2 separate regions of the Homo sapiens genome follow, and region 2 is linked to region 1. The links are contacts of gene promoters, found by promoter capture Hi-C in blood cells and fetal thymus (Javierre and others, 2016). All regions are on one chromosome and are shown on one strand. Each heading gives the region's core, a stretch centred on a gene start or on the middle of the fragment in contact. The rest is flanking DNA. Distances are from core to core; before and after follow the strand shown.

Evidence for each region. Contacts are between HindIII fragments. The CHiCAGO score rates a contact against its expected background, and 5 or more counts as called.
Region 2: a contact is called between a fragment that was not itself captured here and the fragment with the promoter of FAM234B in region 1, in 7 of 17 cell types (monocytes, total B cells, activated CD4 T cells and 4 more). The highest score is 10.2, in monocytes.

What each region holds. Positions count from the first base shown.
Region 1 is chr12:13,042,952-13,049,016 of GRCh38, forward strand. FAM234B (family with sequence similarity 234 member B) reads left to right here and starts at 1,430. Exons shown (of 13, transcript NM_020853.2): 1 at 1,430-1,489. The coding sequence starts at 1,453. The HindIII fragment of the contact is 2,713 bases long and covers 1,211-3,923 here.
Region 2 is chr12:13,213,906-13,220,465 of GRCh38, forward strand. EMP1 (epithelial membrane protein 1) reads left to right here. Exons shown (of 5, transcript NM_001423.3): 5 at 629-6,036. The coding sequence ends at 786. Among named protein-coding and RNA genes, the nearest start is that of EMP1, 20 kb to the left of the region's middle. The HindIII fragment of the contact is 5,370 bases long and covers 1-4,058 here.

The sequences.
Region 1 (6,065 bases), core at 180-2,679:
AAGGGAAGAAAGGAGGTGAGACTGATTGCTGGAGACTCTCAGATTACTCCCACAGGATAGTCCTGTCTGCAGTTTCTCACGGGAATTAGGCAGCCTGCAAATGAGATGTATCTTGGAGCTTTTGTTGTGACACTCAGAAGTTACATTACCTTTCTATTTCTCAGCTTTCTCTTAAACAAAACAAGGAGAGTGGGACTAGATAGCCTCTAGGATCTGTTCCAGTTCTAAGATAACACAGTATTAGCATTCCTGCACTAAAATGCTGATCACTTGCGTGTGGGAAAGAAGCAAGTCAGTTCTTCCTTCTACACCACTGTGCCTGGTCCTGAGGCAAGCCAAGTTCAGAAGTCAGAGAGGGCCTGGGTGTTTGCATTTTCCACAGTGACCTCAGTGGGTGTTTGGGCAGCAAAAGTATTCACATTCCACTCAGTAGCTAGAGAGGAACACACAGGTATTCTCTATGTAAAAGGTAAGGATCCTGATTCATTTGGCAGCTGCTTTGAATTTTTTTCTTTAATTGAAAAGAAAGTACATTAAATTTGAGAAATACTATTCTAAGCTGCAGTTCCTATGTTAAAATGGAAAAAAGTTATGGAGGGATGAAGGAGATTTCCAGAGGGACAAGGAAGACAAAGTGGGGGAAAGCTCAGGGAGCCAAGGAAGGAGGAATTCCTGGGCATCGGGCTCTCCGCAAAAATCATTCAGGCAAAGCTGGGGTGATTACGGGGAGCGTGCAGATGCCTTAAAGGTCAAGCATTGAAATCTGAGGAGCTGGAGATGCTGCATCTATTGGATGTATGTACACAGTCGGATCCTCCTTCTACACCCTTCAACTAGAAGCTGCAGCGTAGGGTGCTGAGTAGACACCTGTAAAGAACTGGGAGCAATAAATGAGGGTTCGAGCTCCAGGAAACTTCAACTTCTACCTAAGAAGCGTAATAGAAACACTCTTACTAGGTGCCTACTGTGTGCTGTGTGTTTTAAACAGGTCGTATCATTTAATTCTCATTGCAAGCTTGTGAAGTAGGTAGTATGTCTTTAATTAAAAAAAAGCAGCGGCAGCTCAGTCGCCCCAAGGGACTTGCCCAAGATGGCCCAGCTAGTAAGTGATTCAGGCAGGATTCAAATCCAGTCTGCCTGATTTCAAAGCCCACGCACATTGCACAATCCACACCTCCTTAAATATCTCCTTCGAATCATTTTCACTGCAAGCTTACGGGGTATTTTCTCCCCATTTCACTGACGAGGCAAGTGAGACTCAGAGTGGTGAGGTGACCTGCATAGGTAGGGTGGGAGAAAAGCCTGCGGAGCGTGTACTCTGGCTTGGCCTCCCTCAGCTCTGTCCCCAGCAAGCGGGTCCCACCTTTCCCGGTCCCAGCCCCACGCACCGCCGCTCGGAACTACACTTCCCGGCAGAACGCGGGCGCGCGCACGCGCACCGGGGCCTCAGCCATGGCGACCGTGCTGTCCAGGGCGCTCAAGCTGCCGGGTAAGGAGTCGCATGCTTGCGACCACCCAGTCCCCGCCGGTGTTGGAATAAGGGGAGGCGAGGCTCTGGGGGCGAGGCCGGTCGGGCCCTGGCCTCAACCCAGACTCAGCTGCAGGCGCCCGGTGCCGAGGAGGGTGCAGTCCCTTGGGGCTGGGGTCTCTGTGCCACCAGAGGGCGAGAGGGGCGCCCAGCGGGGCAGGGGTCTCGGGCGCGGGGCGAACCCGGAGACGCGCGGGGAGAGGGCGCCGAGCAGGTGTTACGGCGGGGAATGTCAGAACGCCGGTCGCCGCTGTCCCGAGGGGAGGCTGGCGAGAGGAGCATCCTTCCCGAGCGCCGCGGACCCAGCACCGCAGGGACTCCGGCGCCTTCTGTCTTGGCTGGACCTGGGCGGGGGCGGCGGGACGGCGAGTGGCCCTCTGTGGATCATCCCCTCCACCTAACGGCAGCAACGACGCATCCATGAGGCAGGTGGGACAGGTATTTACGTCCCTTCCTAGTTTACAGAAGAGAAAATGAGAGTTATTTGGCTAAGTGAATTGTCCAAGGTCTCACAAGTATTGGGAAAGCTCGGCCTTGAACGTCAGGGGTCTTTTCACTCTAAATCCTGAGCTTTTGATTCCACTTGGTCAGTCTCCAGCTGCCGAGATTAAGCATGGGAAATGATTTGGCACCTATAAGTTGAAGATAATGTATGGAATCTTCTTTAAGGCAGCATTAGGGGTGATGACAACTTCCAGAGCTGATTCAGTACTTCGGGCAGCAGCTCCAAGTTTTTTTTCCTTTTTTTTTTTTTTTCCTCCTAAACCTCCAGAGTAGGATTGTACTGTTAGAAAGTTGATATTTAAATAAAAGTATATTTATTCCACCCAAGTAAATTTTAAACATTAGGCTTTAGAAAAATTGATGGCTCTACCTAGGTAAGTTTTAAGCATTAAGCTATAAACATTTATTTGCTGATAATTTGTATTAGAGGGAAAAGCAGTTGCTTTCATAGCTATCTCTAGAGAGGGCTATTTGGGTTTTGGTTGGATAGCTAGTTTGAGCTTGCAGGGGGATTACAGGGTCCTTGTTCTCAAGGAGCTTCCAGTATGCTACCCTGAAGCGAACCTTGCCATTTGGATGACGCTAGGTTGGATATTAATTTGCGTTTCTGTCCCCAGACTTCATGACCTCAGACAGATTATTATTTTTTTTAATATGGGCTCATTGGAACATTGGAAGGAACACTGATAGCATCTGCCTTGGAATGTGTGCATAACACTGGAATTAAAGGAGAGACGTGGCCCTTTACCTGCAGGATTAATTTTTTACTTTTTTACTTTGTATATCCTTAGTGTAGAATGATGTCCTCCCAGAGGGGTAATAAGATGTCAGACATTTAGCTTTATTTCTTTTTTTTTTTTCTTTTAGAGTCCTTTTTTAAAATTTCAGTGTAGGTCATTGTTATTCTCTAAGAATGAGAATGCATGAAAATCTTGCTTTAGCAACTCTTGAGGTCTTTTGTGTTCTTATGCCCCAAGGCTGTGGTGTTATTACTCCCTGGAGTATTAGTTGTAGGAACTGGTTGGGGTTCCCATAGTCCAGTCCATGGGCCTGTTTGGCAGGCAGCTTGGCCCTGAGCCCTGAGGTATGCTTGATGCTTTTTTAGGCCCAGATATAGTAGGCATGTGTTCTTTCATGTGATGTGGGTTTTAAGAAAATGTTCACTTGCGTCTACGGCCATACCACCCTGAACGCGCCCGATCTCGTCTGATCTCGGAAGCTAAGCAGGGTCGGGCCTGGTTAGTACTTGGATGGGAGAAAATGTTCACTTGCGTTTTTCCTTGTCTCCTTCTTGCCCTTTCTTCTTCCCTCCACCCAAAATACTATTTTTAGTTTTTGCATTAGGTACAAGTTGTTTTTATATAGCTCTTTTTGGCTCCCCTGTAATTGGGGTCCTGAGACTGCTGTCCTGTTTGGGCTACTGTGTTATGTTCCTGTAGTTAACATCCCCACTGTTTTCTTTGTTTGTTTTTTTGTTTGTTTGTTTGTTTTTTTGAGACGGAGTTTTGCTCTTCTTGCCCAGGCTGGAGTGCAATTGTGTGATCTCGGCTCACCGCAACCTCCGCCTCCTGGGTTCAAGCAATTCTCCTGCCTCAACCTCCCGAGTAGCTGGGATTACAGGCATGCACCACAATGCCCAGCTAATTTTGTATTTTTAGTAGAGACAGGGTTTCTCCATGTTGGTCAGGCTGGTCTGGAACTCCCGACCTCAGGTGATCGCCTGCCTTGGCCTCCCAAAGTGCTGGGATTACAGGCATGAGCCACTGCGTCTGGCCCCAACATCCCCACTGTTTTCATGTGTGAGGAAGTCAGGTTGGAGTGGTGGCTGAGAGCATGAGACAGGCTCGGGTTCAAATCCAGTCTTTACCTAATTAGTTACTTAATCTCTTTAAGCTTTAGTTTCCTCATCTGTAACAATAACATTATTATGGAACATTCACTCTATGCCACACATTCTACTACATATTTACCTCCTAGGGTTATCTGAAATAGTAAAGGAGATGGATGTACTTAGGAGGTCTAGTAACCTCTGACATATGTTAATTAGTCAGTAAGTGTTAGCTGTTGTCATCAGCAGTGTGCTCATTTATGAATGTGATACCTGAAGGAAGGCTTGATGTAATAGTGAGCTATTGACAGATCTCAGCAGTCTTGTTATGAAAGAGCAGTTTCGCTAAGCTCAAGAAGGAAAGATGTTTGGCTCACATGCATAAAATGAGGTTAATTAGTAGCAGAAGGCCAATATGACATTCATAAAGCCTGTAGGGCAGCTTATCTCCTAAGTATATATATATTTTTTTTCTTAGGCCATTTTAAAGTTTGAAGGTCAAACACTGGAGGGAATATCAGAGCAAAATGATTTTTTATGATTTATTTTGTTTGTGTAACTTAGTCTTTATATGCCCTTGGGTAAACTAACCCATGATATGAATTATTTACCTTTAGTTGCAGTAGAGTGTATTGTATAGTATATGCACAGTATAGTGTATACTATAGTATAGTATATGTTATAGAATAGTGTATGTTTTAGTATATTTCCTGAAAACGTTTGGGTATGGTATAGTTGCATCACTTTCCTATTTGTGTTTTCCTCTCTACCATTTTGGAAATCCTATTATATTTAAGCAGCATCTTCAGTCTTCCTAAGAGGAAAAGCAATAGCTGTGGAAAGCGCATTTATAATGATTTGTTATGAAATCAGTGCCCTCTCCCTTATTCTTTGAAAACCTTTCATTCATTAAAAATTTGGGTGGTGGCTGAAAGTAGCAAGGAAGCGAGTGAGTGCTAAGTGCCCTAAGCTTGGAAGCTGGATTTGACGCCTGGCTCCTCAGCCTGAGTAGGACTTAAGGCAAGTTGGTGGACTTCTTTTAAGGCAAGTTGGTGGACTTCTTTTAAGGCAAGTTGGTGGACGTCTTTTACTTCACGCTCTCTTATTGTCTTTCTGTAAATAGATAGAAAAAATATTATTAAAGACTTCTCTAATCAAAACTTGCAGTCTGTAATCCTTAAGCGGAGGTTTGTTTTTGCAGTATCTGAAAAAAAAATTAGTATAAAAGTATTTATTCCTCTCAAAAGGCTGGCCAAGAACTGGCCCCTAGTCTTCTGTGATGTAAAGAAAGCATAGGAATATGATAACTCAGAGCGCTTGTGTGCTTGTCTTTATATTTCGGTGATGTCATGGCTGGGTCAGAATGCTTGGACATCAAATTGCATGTTCTTTCTCTGAGGACTTTTTAGATATTGCTCCGCTATCTTTTAATAGTGTATGTTACTATGGAGAAATCTTTGCCTGATTTTTGTTCCTGTCATTAGTGACTTGATTCTTTTTCCTTTGGCCTGGCTGCTTATAGGATTCCTTCTTTGTCCTTGAAGTCCTGTGCCTTTACTAGGATATATTTCAGTATTGATTCTTCTGAATCAGTTTTTCTTGGGACTCTGTGTACTCATTATTCTGCAGTTTTAGGTCTTTATTGTAGGAAGTTTTTTTTGGCAACTCTTTAAAATACTGCTTTTGGTTCTTTTCTGTTTTCTGTTATCCTCTTTTCTGTTATCCTCTTTTCTGTTATCCTCTTCGGTCATGCATATATTGGCTCACCTTTGTTGTCAGTATCTATCACGTTGTTTCTAGTCTTTTTAAAGCCTTGATTTTTTTTCCACGGGATCATATGTAGCCCGTACAGACTTTGAAGCCAGACTGGTTTTGAATTGTTACCTATCACTTGCTGTTTATCTGTGGGCCAATGTATTAGTCTGTTTTCACACTGCTGATAAAGACATACTTGAGACGAGGCAATTTATAAAAGAAAGAGGTTTAATGGTCTTACAGTTCTGTGTGCCTAGGGAGGCCTCACAATCATGGTGGAAGGTAAAAGGCACATCTTACATGGTGGCGGCAAGAGAGAATGAGAACCAAGCGAAACAGGGTTCCCCTTGTAAAACCATCAGATCTCGTGAGACTTATTCACTACCATGAGAACAGTACGGAAGAAACTGCCCCCATGATTCAGTTATCTCCCACTGGGTCCCTCCCACA
Region 2 (6,560 bases), core at 124-2,623, 170 kb after region 1:
CATGGTTCAGTGAAACTTCCTTGTGCAATTTTCTCCTCTGGTTATTTGTTCTCTTGTGGAGAACCTTGGATTGCTGCTTAGGTTAAGAACCCTCATCTGCTTCATTGTTCAAAACCAGTGCTCCTGGGTAGCTACCAAGTGGCAGTGCATATCTGTTAGTAGCACGTGTGTACAAGACACTTCAAGAAGGCAGAAAGGTAGGAGTTCTCAGAAAGATGAAACCACTGCCACAATGCACATCATTATTGTGATTCTCACTTAATTGTTGTTCTTTCCCAATATACTCGGTTTGGTGGAAGGACATGCTCTTTTGCATCCCTGAGTAGCTTTCCTAGACCCACAAGGGCCAGACAGGACAGCTGGGTGGTAGGCATGAGGTTCTGTGTTTTACATCACAGCGTGGCCACACAAACCAGTGCAGACATGAGAGCCCAGACACCTCTAATTTATCAACATACCGTCGAGCTTGGCCCAGGGGACATCCATCAGAACTCCTGTTTAGGGACAAACAAGCAGAATTCATTTTCCTATTGCTAATGAGGGAAATAGGATCTTCTTAAAATTAGTAAAACTTTTTCTCGACTTTAATGTAAGAAAACACACCGACAAATCTCCTTTTCCCCTGCAGGGCTGTGCATTCTTGTGGGGGTGTCCATCTACACTAGTCATTATGCGAATCGTGATGGAACGCAGTATCACCACGGCTATTCCTACATCCTGGGCTGGATCTGCTTCTGCTTCAGCTTCATCATCGGCGTTCTCTATCTGGTCCTGAGAAAGAAATAAGGCCGGACGAGTTCATGGGGATCTGGGGGGTGGGGAGGAGGAAGCCGTTGAATCTGGGAGGGAAGTGGAGGTTGCTGTACAGGAAAAACCGAGATAGGGGAGGGGGGAGGGGGAAGCAAAGGGGGGAGGTCAAATCCCAAACCATTACTGAGGGGATTCTCTACTGCCAAGCCCCTGCCCTGGGGAGAAAGTAGTTGGCTAGTACTTTGATGCTCCCTTGATGGGGTCCAGAGAGCCTCCCTGCAGCCACCAGACTTGGCCTCCAGCTGTTCTTAGTGACACACACTGTCTGGGGCCCCATCAGCTGCCACAACACCAGCCCCACTTCTGGGTCATGCACTGAGGTCCACAGACCTACTGCACTGAGTTAAAATAGCGGTACAAGTTCTGGCAAGAGCAGATACTGTCTTTGTGCTGAATACGCTAAGCCTGGAAGCCATCCTGCCCTTCTGACCCAAAGCAAAACATCACATTCCAGTCTGAAGTGCCTACTGGGGGGCTTTGGCCTGTGAGCCATTGTCCCTCTTTGGAACAGATATTTAGCTCTGTGGAATTCAGTGACAAAATGGGAGGAGGAAAGAGAGTTTGTAAGGTCATGCTGGTGGGTTAGCTAAACCAAGAAGGAGACCTTTTCACAATGGAAAACCTGGGGGATGGTCAGAGCCCAGTCGAGACCTCACACACGGCTGTCCCTCATGGAGACCTCATGCCATGGTCTTTGCTAGGCCTCTTGCTGAAAGCCAAGGCAGCTCTTCTGGAGTTTCTCTAAAGTCACTAGTGAACAATTCGGTGGTAAAAGTACCACACAAACTATGGGATCCAAGGGGCAGTCTTGCAACAGTGCCATGTTAGGGTTATGTTTTTAGGATTCCCCTCAATGCAGTCAGTGTTTCTTTTAAGTATACAACAGGAGAGAGATGGACATGGCTCATTGTAGCACAATCCTATTACTCTTCCTCTAACATTTTTGAGGAAGTTTTGTCTAATTATCAATATTGAGGATCAGGGCTCCTAGGCTCAGTGGTAGCTCTGGCTTAGACACCACCTGGAGTGATCACCTCTTGGGGACCCTGCCTATCCCACTTCACAGGTGAGGCATGGCAATTCTGGAAGCTGATTAAAACACACATAAACCAAAACCAAACAACAGGCCCTTGGGTGAAAGGTGCTATATAATTGTGAAGTATTAAGCCTACCGTATTTCAGCCATGATAAGAACAGAGTGCCTGCATTCCCAGGAAAATACGAAAATCCCATGAGATAAATAAAAATATAGGTGATGGGCAGATCTTTTCTTTAAAATAAAAAAGCAAAAACTCTTGTGGTACCTAGTCAGATGGTAGACGAGCTGTCTGCTGCCGCAGGAGCACCTCTATACAGGACTTAGAAGTAGTATGTTATTCCTGGTTAAGCAGGCATTGCTTTGCCCTGGAGCAGCTATTTTAAGCCATCTCAGATTCTGTCTAAAGGGGTTTTTTGGGAAGACGTTTTCTTTATCGCCCTGAGAAGATCTACCCCAGGGAGAATCTGAGACATCTTGCCTACTTTTCTTTATTAGCTTTCTCCTCATCCATTTCTTTTATACCTTTCCTTTTTGGGGAGTTGTTATGCCATGATTTTTGGTATTTATGTAAAAGGATTATTACTAATTCTATTTCTCTATGTTTATTCTAGTTAAGGAAATGTTGAGGGCAAGCCACCAAATTACCTAGGCTGAGGTTAGAGAGATTGGCCAGCAAAAACTGTGGGAAGATGAACTTTGTCATTATGATTTCATTATCACATGATTATAGAAGGCTGTCTTAGTGCAAAAAACATACTTACATTTCAGACATATCCAAAGGGAATACTCACATTTTGTTAAGAAGTTGAACTATGACTGGAGTAAACCATGTATTCCCTTATCTTTTACTTTTTTTCTGTGACATTTATGTCTCATGTAATTTGCATTACTCTGGTGGATTGTTCTAGTACTGTATTGGGCTTCTTCGTTAATAGATTATTTCATATACTATAATTGTAAATATTTTGATACAAATGTTTATAACTCTAGGGATATAAAAACAGATTCTGATTCCCTTCATTGTGTGAATGTTTTTTTCTAAAAAAAATGTGGAGAAATATGGATAATTATGACATTTATCCCTCATTAAGCTGCCTATCAGTTTGATTTGGACAACTTGACATTTATTTGAGACATTAAGCTACTTTCTGGTAATATATTAGGCATTTCTGCAATAGCTCTTTCAGGTAACTGAATATTATTAAGCATAGTTTTATCTTGCTTTGATTAAACCTCTTAGGCAAAAAATGGAACTTCATAAGCTAATACATTAGAAAGGGGTTATGATTATAAATCAGAAATGCTTGTGACATTAAGAAATGAGGCACTTGTGAAATTTCTTTGAAATAGCCAGCTCCTCTAATGTGTCTTCAAAATATAAAGTGATTCACAAAGGCATGCATCACACCTATTTGTAGCAGCCCATTCATTACATAAACCAGGGCATACCTGTGTGGGCTCTGTGAGTGAAGGGAGGCTTCACTACTTTCTGTGAGCAGTAAGGACTGGTATCTTTCTGTGAGCAATAAGGACTGGATAAAGACTGCATATCCTTGTGTCGTGTCAGCACCAATACAATAAGGAGGGTTTTAATGTGAAGCAGGCAATCTTCCAGCCCCTTCTGGTCTTGGATGAAATAGTTGCACAGAGTATTGCACCAAAAATACACAATGGAGGCTGAAAAGTTCAACATATTTTAAGTCAATTAATCAAATTGCATTGATTCTTGATGCTTTCTTAGAGGCCTACATGATTTCTTAGATTGCTCTGATAAACTATCATAAGGGGTCCACCTCCCCTCATTTAGCTCCCCCAGGGATTTCTTTTCCCCCATGTCATACACCCAGTCCTAAATCAACCCCCAAGGCTATCCTTCCATCCCTTCTGCAGAGGGAACTTTTGTCAGACTCTGCAACAAACTCCTAGCTCTATCCAGAGTGTCCTCTGCTGCTAAGATTGGTATCTTTCTCCTCAAAAGCCTGGATGGTGAATGGGGGTGCATTAGTCAGAATTCTCCAGAGAAACAGAAAAAATAAGATTCGCGTGTGTGTGCAAACATATATATAAATAAATAAAAATATATTTATTTTAAGGAATTGACTCACATGATTTTGAAGGCAGGCAAGCCCAAAGTCTGCAAGGGGTGGGCCAGCAGAGAGCTGGTGCTACAGTGCGGGTCTGAAAGTTGCCAGAGTCCCTTTTATAGAGAAGCTTAAAAAATATTTGTTGAATTAAATGTCTTAGGTAGAGACAAATTGAATTAAAGTGGTTAAGTAAATACTCTTAGGTGAAATTTGTGCAAATTATGAGTATAAAGAGGGTGAGCTACAGAACTCTCCATGACCACTCAAGAATGGGACCCAAAGGCAAATGATAACTTATTCATTCATCAAGGGATAAACTTGAGTTATCAAATGGTTAATAGATAAAGATCCCACTCTGCCTTGGATTTAGCCATCGCAGTCCCTGTGTAAAACCCCACCGGCTTTCAGGCATGGAAAAAAATTTCACAAAGGCCTTGAAAGAAGGCATATGAAGACCAAAAGGATATTGAGCAGGGTTCCATACTTGAATAAAGGAAGAAACTCCCTTCAATGTTTACTAAGAAATAGTTAGAATATAGCATATCCTGTATAGATGAAATGTCCTAGCGAAAATGTTTAAATGTATTTAAAGAAGAGCTAGATTTTGTGGGGGGAGAGAAGGGAATAGGATAGGCTGGTGGGAGGAAGAATGAAAAGAAGAAAACTTGTTGGAAATTTTGGAGTAGATTGTGAGGAGGGGTGACTCACTTTAAAGATGTATCATTTGGAGGTAGACACGATTTTCAGAGCACAAAACAGATAAGGAAAGATGTATGCTGATTGTGTGGAGCCCAAGGGAAGGCGGGGTTTTGGAGTCTTACGTGGCTTTGTTTCTGAAAGGGAGACATGTGAAGCCTACTCCTGAGGCGGGAGGCTGGGGACATGACCATCAAGACCTATAATTGATAAACAACTAGGGGCTGGGTGCTGCACCTACATGCTGGGGAAATAGAAAATGAAGCAGACATGTGTCCCATCTTCTTCCAGCTTTCAGTCTAGCTTGGAAATAAATCTCATACCTAGAGAAAATGGAGGATCTGTGGGATGTAGATGAGGTGGGAGCATGAATGCCTAGGGAGGGAAGAAGAAAGATTTTCAGTTCTTCAGCTTTTCCTCATGACCCTATCTCATGCCATGAGCAATTGTCTGGCATCTCCTGTGGGTTGGACCACTGCTGCATTTCTTACTTGCCAACATCACTTTGTCCCAAATGCCATTCCTTTGTTCCAGGGCCTCCTTGTCTTCCATCTGGGGAACTGGAGGTGAGAAGCATTATAATAGCCTCTCTGCCTTTATCTACAATCTCTCCAACCTGTGCTTTATGCTGATGTCAGGATGGGCGTTGATGGATGCTTCTATCACTGTCGGGGCAGGGAGGGCCAGAACACTAGCATAAGATGTCAATATGTCTATCCATATGTCAGGTCCATACTCAACTCAAGCTTCTGGTTAACTGCTGATCTATTGGCAACTCCAGTTCCCAATAAGTTCCTCATCTCCTTCTGAGACCACCTCAGTGTGGACTTAATCGTCCACATCACTGTCAGCATTTTGGTTAAAACCATTCAACAAGTCTCCAGGAAGCTCCAAACTTTCCTTCATCTTCCTGTCTTCTTCTGAGCCCTCCAAACTCTTCCAACCTCTACCCGTTACCCAGTTCCAAAGGTGCTTCCACACTTTCAAGTATCTTTATAGCAATGCCCCACTCCTGGTACCAAATTCCTGTATTAGTCTGTTTTCACACTGCTATGAAGACATACTTGAGACTCGGTAATTTATATAGAAAAGAGGTTTAATTGACAAAAAAGCTAACAAAGTGAGCCCTGATTCAAAAATGACTGTCTACACTTGGCACATGAGGGACTTTATGATATTAAGAGATTAATTAAACAACAGTGGATGGGGAGGAAGAACAGACTTTTGAGCTCTTCCCAATATAGGAATGTGTTAGTTCTAAAAATTTTCTTAAGTTGTTTGCTTGGAACTCAGAGTATATTTTTCCATACGAAAAATTCAGAACTATTTTATTTATGATATGGGCTAAAAAGACTTCTGTAATCTAGCTTGGAAACTTAATAATCATTAAACTTATTTTCAATGAGATACGACTGTTTAAATTCTGAAACCTGGAACCCTCTGTTGCCCTGCAAATGCTTTAGGAAAAGAAGAGTGTGTCTGATGGAGGATAAGATGGAAAGTGAATATGGATCCATATTCAGAAGACACGGTTGCATTACAGCAAAGGAACAGCTTTTTGCTGGCCATGCTAAGCATTTGACATTGATGTGGGAGAACATGGCATTCAGTATGACTCTGTCTGGATATATATAGTTTTGTAAATTGGGTGTTCTTAAGTTGAGACTGCATGTTTCATTCCAAAATCAATCTTAGTTTTCCCACTTGCATTAGCATATTGTATTAGTCCGTCTTCACACTGCTATAAAGACATACCCGAGACTGGGTAATTTATAAAGAAAAGAGGTTTAATTGACTCACAGTTCTGCATGGCTGGGGAGGCTTCAGGAAACTTATAATCATGGCAAAAGGGGAAGAGGTACGTCTTACATGGTGACAGGGGAGAGAGAGCATGCAAGAGAAGGGAAAACTGCATTATAAAACCATAAATT